Regions from separate parts of the Homo sapiens genome. Here region 1 is linked to region 2. The links are contacts of gene promoters, found by promoter capture Hi-C in blood cells and fetal thymus (Javierre and others, 2016). All regions are on one chromosome and are shown on one strand. Each heading gives the region's core, a stretch centred on a gene start or on the middle of the fragment in contact. The rest is flanking DNA. Distances are from core to core; before and after follow the strand shown.

Region 1 (3,522 bases), core at 206-2,705, 47 kb before region 2:
AAAAAACCCTTTTTAAAATTTATTTTTATTTATTATTATTATTATTGTATTATATTATTTTGTTTGTGTGTGACAGGGTCTCACTCTCTCCCCCAGGCTGGAGTCCAGTGGCTCAATCATGGCTCACTGCAGCCTCAAATTCCTGGGCTCAAGCAATCCTCCTGTCTCAGCCTCCTGAATAGCTGGGACTACAGGTGCATGCCACCATGCCCGGCTAATTTTTCAATTTTTTGTAGAGACAGGGTCTCGCTATGTTGCCCAGGCTGGTGGTCTGGAACTTCTGGGCTCAAGCAATTCTCCCGCCTCAGTCTCTCAAGGTGTTAAGATTATAGGCATGAGCCACCACACCTGGCTTTTATTATTACTATTTATTTTTTAGAGAAAGGGTCTTGCTCTGTCACCCAGGCTGAAGTGTAATGGCACGATTATAGCTCACTACAGCCTCAAACTCCTGGCCTCAAGTGATTCCCCTACTTTTCGAGGCTGATTCCCCTCAAGCCTCCCAAATTACTAGGATTACAGGTGGAAGCCTCTGCACCCGGCCCATTAACTATTTTTTGTTGTTGTTGAGATGGAGTTTTGCTCTTGTTGCCCAGGCTGGAGTGCAGTGGCATGATCTCGGCTCACTGCAACCTCCACATTCCAGGTGCAAGTGATTCTCCTGCCTCAGCCTCCCAAGTAGCTGGGATTACAGGCACACACCACCACACCCGGCTAATTTTTGTATTTTTAGTAGAGATGGGGTTTTATCATGCTGGCCAGGCTGGTCTTGAACTCCAGACCTCAGATGATCTGCCTGCCTCGGCCTCCCAAAGTGCTGGAATTACAGGCATCAGCCACCACACCTGGCCCCATTAACTATTTTCTAAACACCTCTACCCCTATCTTCTAGAGGCAGTGAGTTTACGTTCTCCTTCCCTTCATAAGACAAAGGGCACCAACTCTGTAGTTTAAAAGACTATATTGACTTTCAGATTTTTAGAGAAGTGCCACTATGAACCCACAGAGCACTTAATAAGGGTTTTAAAATAATTAAATCAGTAATAACAAAGTAAAGGCCGTCACAGATACACACACACAGCAGTTTGTCTCAATCGATCTGATGTGTGTTAAGTTTGCATTGTCATTATCTACAAGGTAATTTATCTCCATTAAACTGGTCTGTAGGGGATACATTGATGAATGAAATCTGGGTTTCATTGCTTTGTTTATTTACAACGTACCCTTTCTACTGAGATCACCAATTATCAAGAAACTGTGATGGTAGTTGCCTTAAATTGGTTAACTGGGTTTCTGTCCCCAAAAAGGCTTAAATTTAGACGAGTAGAGCCACAGATATAAACCTCTAAAGCTTATTACTAACTCCTCTGTTAATCTCTGTACTGTCTGATCACTCAGCTACTATTGTTCTCTGCTTATGGAAAAGCACAGAAAAAGTGTGGTACTTACCATGACATCTACAGGAAGAACAGTTTTAGGATTCTAGGATTAGTGTTTAAGTGGAACCGGGGAAGAGAGAAGAAATTAAATCATCATAGAAATGTTCTCATAAAGCTTAATTTTATGTGAATATTTTTCACCTTGAAAACAAAGTTTAAGGTCACAGTTGCCAGAGAATCTAAATTCCTTATTTTTATGTATTTATTTAGAGAAAACCTCTAGTTTTTTGTTATGGCTGCCTGAAGGTGGCACATGCATTAAGTCCTAAGACATGCTAAATCTTTTTGTTAAAAACCCTGTGTAGCCATTCTTAGGGCTTCCTTTTAGCAAGAGAGACATTTTAGCAGTCTGCACACAGAATCGGAGATTAGCTTCATATGGGCGTCTTTTAATTTTAATTTTTTGAGACAGGTCTTATTCTGTCTATCAGGCTGGAGTGGCAGTGGCTCAGTCACAGCTCACTGCAGCCTCAAATTCATGGGCTCAAGGGATCCTCTGGATTCAGCCTTCCCAATAGCTAGGACTACAGGCATGCACCACAACGCCCAGCTAATTTTTAGAATTTTTTGTAGAGATGGGATCTGGCTATGCTGTGCAGGCTGGTCTGGAACTCCTGACCTCAAGCAATCCTCCTGCCTCGGCCTCCCAAAGTTCTGGGATGAGCCACCACACGGGGCCTCCATGCTGGCATCTCAATGCTGGTCCTGAATTTCGGCTTTCTGTGTGGTCCTTCTTAAGCCAGTTAAACCACTCTCTGTTTGCTTGATCATAAAAACAAATGAATGTTCATCTGAACAAAACGAGCTTATAGCTTTAATAGAATCTCCAAAATGTATGGCAACTTCAAGGCATTAGACAGAAAATAACAACAATAAAACTTTGGCTTCTTTACAAAGTATTTAAAAGTATTTAAAAATTGTTTTGCAAATAACTCTTCTGGCATCCAGGCCAAGCATGGTGGCCCACGCCTGTAATGCCAGTACTTTAGAAGGCTGCGGCAGGTGGATCACTTGAGGTCAGGATTTCAAGACACACCTGGCCAACATGGTGAAACCCCATCTCTATCAAAAATACAAAAATTAGCCAGATGTGGTGGGGTGCGCCTGTGTCCCCAGCTACTTGGGAGGCTGAGGCACAAGAATTGCTTGAATCTCGGAGGCAGAGGTTGCAGCGAGCTGAGATTGTGCCACTGCATTCCAGCCTGGGCAACAGAGTGAGACTCGGTCTCACACACACACACACACACACACACACACACACACACACACACAAATTCATCTGGCATCTGGACTTAATCTAAAAATATATTCTTGAACAATAAGGCCAAAGGGAAAGAAAAGTCTCAATGTTCTCTTACGCATTTATATCATCTGCAAATCTCTTTCAGGACTCCCCTCCCCTGCTTATAACAGAAAATTGGGCAGCCCTGTGTGTTTGTGTCAATTCCACAAATTGACAGAATCAATTTGTGGAATCTCTAATCTTTTTCTATCCATGGAACACTCCTAACACCAAATGTGTGTTGTTTCTTCCCCACACCAATAAATTCTCTGTGACACCAGCTGCATGTCCTACAATTTTTTCAAAATTACTTTTTATTGTTTATAGACACAGGATTTTTACTGTGTTGCCCAGGCTGGTCTCGAACTCCTGGGCTCAAGCAAGCCTTCCACCTCAGCCTCCCAAAGTGCTGGGATTACAGGTGTGAGCCACCTCTCCCTCCCTCCCTCCCTCCCCGCCCTCTCTCCCTCCCTCCCTTCCCTTCCTTCCTTCCTTCCTTCCTTCCTTCCTTCCTTCCTTCCTTCCTTCCTTCCTTCCTTCCTTCCTTCCTTCCTTCCCTCCTTCCTTCACAGATTCATTGCTCTGTCACCTCAGGCTGGAATGCAGTGGTGCCATCTGGCTCACTGTAACCCCCGCCTCCCGTGTTCAAGAGATTCTCATGCCTCAGCCCCCAGAGTAGCTGAGATTACAGGTGTTCGCCAGCACACGTGGCTAATTTTTGCATTTTTAGTAGAGATGGGGTTTCACCTTGTTGGCTAGGCTGGTCTCGAAATCCTGGCCTCAAGTGGTCTGCCCACCTTG
Region 2 (3,539 bases), core at 925-3,424:
TGAGCTATGATTGCATCACTGCACTCCAGCCTGGGCAACAGATCAAGATCTTGTCTCAAAAATGCAACAACCATGAAACAAGTAGTTTTTACGTTTCAAATCGGAGTTTTGCTAGAATTCCAAAAATACAACCTCCTTACACTTCAATTTCCTTTTTCCTTCGCTGGTGCTTTGATCTTAATAAGTTGTTATACCCATATGCATCTGATAGTACTGTGTGAGTACCTATTGGAGTCATAGCTCTATCACACACTGCATTTGTGAACAAACTTTCTGAGGCTCAGTTTCCTTTCCTGAAACACGGGTGTCCTGAAACAGTACTGGTGTTCATAGGGTGTTCAGGGTTAAATGGGATTTTGTTTATAAAGAGCTTAGTGCTGTGCCTGACACAGTGTTAGCTTCAATAATGGCATCTATTATGTACACAGGAAAAAAAAAGACTTCTAAAGTGTTGGCAGCATTTATCTCCAGTGTGTGGGATATGGTTACAATGAACATCTATTACTTTTGTAATCAAAGCAAAAGAACAATAAATGTTATTATTAATTTAAAAATCTGGCTTTGGCTTTGGTGGGAAGGACCTACAGTTAATGTCAATGTACTCAATCCCTGAGTAAGAAAAAGTCTCCAGTTTTGAACCAGGACTTTAAAGACATTCTGTCCTCCCCATCCCCCGCCCCATCAACTCATAGGGACTATAATCAAGGGAGATAGATACTAAATCAGAATTCTAGAGACATTTTGCCTTCATCCACCCTTGCGGTCCCCTGGATCACTGCTGTTTGGAGGGCAGGCAGAGGAATTCAGAGATCATAACTCCCCAAATAAGGCTTTCTCTCCCATTGGAAGGGTTCTCCAGTGTGGTGTTCAGCTGGAAATCTAACTCTCTAGGGAATGATTCCAGGAGCGTTACATTCACCCTCTATCAGGCCTTCACTGAGGAATCTCAGTTGTCAAATAAAGCATGCACTAGGCTGCTTCCAGCTGGGGGACTGTGACTGTCCTGCTCTGGCGTCCAGAACAATCTGAGGCCCAGGCCCTTGGCTCCGTCGCTGGTCGAGATTCTTGACTGGCAGCCCAGCGCCTGGGCGGCAGCAGGAGATAGAACCCACCTGGAGTTGCCCGACCCCCTCCAGTCCTCTCCTTGATCTTCTTGGGCCATCCCCTGACAAGCAGGAAGGGACAGAGTACCCGCCCTCCTGGGATTATCTGCAGAACCGTCAGCCTGCATGGGCTGGCTTCAGAGTGACTTGCTTTCTCCTCTTCCGCACCCGGGGGTGTGGAGAGTGAGGGAGAATATTGCTGCTGGCTCTGGAATAAAATGCTGCCTCTGTTTGGGAGACAAAGAACAGAGTGGCTCCTCCAGGTCAGCTGTCTCTCCCGGCTGGCAGGCCCCTGGCCTCCCCCAGGCCTCTTCTGAGGCTCTAGGTGCCCCAGTAGCAGGGCCTTCTGCAGCAAGGCCGGGAACTGCTGCACCATTGGTGTGTTTTACCTTAAGGGACTCCAGGCAGCTTCCTTGCTGGGAAGATATTCATTTGCTGGGGTGGGGCTGGGGGTGCAGAGGTAGGAAGTGCTGTGGCTAGAAGGCGGCCTGGCCAGCGAGTAGGTGGTGGAGCGAGTGAGAGCGTGTGCGCTGTAAACAGTGTGAGTGCATGTGCGCCAGCGCGTGCAAGGACACGGTAAGGGATGTACATGTATTGTCTCGTGAGTAAGAGCTTGTGTGTGTGTTGGGATGGGAAGACACGTACTGGTATGAGAGCCCGCGTGAGAAGTGTATGTGTGAGTACTCGCGTGGAAGTTTTGCACTCGGGTTTGAGGCTGTGCAAAAGTACGCATGGCTCACCAGGTGTGGGGCTGTGTGGGCTGCCTCGTGTGTGCCAGCCCGTGTGCAGGCCTGTTTTGTGAGAGCCTTCAGGGAACGCATGAGCACGTGTGCCAGTGCGAGTGCGGGACGCGGGGAGGCGGGAGAGACCGAGTGGGAGGCCCCGCGAAGGAGTGGGAGTGGGAGTGGGAGTGCCGGCGGGAGACCTGCGGGGGCGCGCCCGGGCTGACGCGTGCGCGCCAGTGCGCGTGAGTGCGGGCGCGCGCCGCCGCCCCCCGCCGGGGTCGGAGCCGGTTGCCATGGGAACGCGCCGCGGCCCGAGTTAATCATTTCCTGTGGAAAGTGTGCGGGAGGGGCGCGAGCGGGCTGGCCGAGGAGGAGGCGGCGGCGTGGAGCTGCCTCCTGCCGGCGGGCCGGGCCGGGCCGAGCCCCGGGCGCTGCGGCGACGCCTGGATCCTGCCTCCGCCAGGCCGGTGAGTGGGGGGCCCGGGCGGGCTGGGTGCGAGCGGGGCGCTGGGCTCTGCCCGGCCCGCCGTTTGGGGCGCCGCGTCCGGGCCGGCCCTGCCCTCGGGACCCCTCTGCCCGGACCCGCTATGGGCGCGGGGAGGGAAAGGCCCGGGAGACCCAGCCCTGCGAGGTCCCCTCCAGCGCCGTTCAGCCCGAGTCGAGGACCTTGCTGGGAGCTGGGCACAGGGGCGGCGTGTCCCACGGGATCCGAGCAGCCTCGGGACCCCGTTTGGATTTTATTGAACGAGAAGAGCGCAGACCCTACCCGGGATGGGCTTGTCAATCGGCGCCGCCCTCTCCCCTTCCTGGCGTCTTCCCCACCCCCAGGGCTCCCTGGAAGGCTGCCTTTGGGTCCCTCCCACCACGTCCCTTGGGGAGTTCGCTTTTTCCCTGGCAGGGCCTGGGGCGGGGTGCGCCCGCCCAGAGGTTAGGAAGAAGGGCCTTGGCCGGTGCCCTCCGGGCAGTGAGGAATCGGGCCATTGACAGCCGCAGCAGTTGTGAGGGTCTCAGCAGGGAGGGCGATCCCAGGACCACCCCTTTAAGCCCAGCATTGCTAGTTAGAGCAGAACTCTGGCTGGTGCAGTGAAGGGCCTGGTCCTGGGAGATATTAAAGAGGAAGCTGTGTTTAATTAAATTCTGGAGTACCATTTACTGCCACCCAGCCCCCACCTCCATACCCCAACACTGTCTCAAGATTGCGGGTTGTGGCCACCCCTGGTCTTTCACCTTCCCCGGCTTTTCCTCTGCCTGAACAGGGTGAGCACCCATTCTTTCCCAGACGTGTATTCCCCATGCCCTTGTTAGAGTAGCCGTCTCCTTGACCAGGGAGAGTCATTTGCTAGGAATGCAGTCTCAGAATGGGGCCCTGCATTTGCAGTGAGTGGACTTTAGGGGCACAGGGTGGTGAGTTCTGCTGTTCACAGGGGCACCAGGGAGCAGAGGGTTTGAAATCTAGGTTGCCCTGGAAAGCCCAGGATAGATGATGGTGTGCAGGGAGGTGGCATTCCCTGTACAACTTCCTTGACCTTCTGCCTGCTCTCCCAGGGCGACCAAGCCCTGCTTGCTGCAGTCTCTGAGCAGCTGTCCAGCCTGTCCCCCCAGTCTTTGCAATGTCCCTGATCTAGGGCAGGGGGAGTATTGCAGCTCTGCTGTCCTGGTCTAAACCCAGAGAGGCAGAGACCCTCTTCCCCAGCCAGGCCCTCTGCATTCA

Evidence for each region. Contacts are between HindIII fragments. The CHiCAGO score rates a contact against its expected background, and 5 or more counts as called.
Region 1: a contact is called between a fragment that was not itself captured here and the fragment with the promoter of KIFC3 in region 2, in 1 of 17 cell types (megakaryocytes). The highest score is 5.3, in megakaryocytes.

What each region holds. Positions count from the first base shown.
Region 1 is chr16:57,846,950-57,850,471 of GRCh38, reverse strand. It overlaps a transcript of KIFC3 not described here. Among named protein-coding and RNA genes, the nearest start is that of KIFC3, 46 kb to the right of the region's middle. RefSeq lists an enhancer at 2,944-3,522. The HindIII fragment of the contact is 203 bases long and covers 1,354-1,556 here.
Region 2 is chr16:57,801,126-57,804,664 of GRCh38, reverse strand. KIFC3 (kinesin family member C3) reads left to right here and starts at 2,174. Exons shown (of 20, transcript NM_001130100.2): 1 at 2,174-2,295. RefSeq lists enhancers at 1,201-1,877, 2,555-3,231. The HindIII fragment of the contact is 12,094 bases long and covers 1-3,539 here.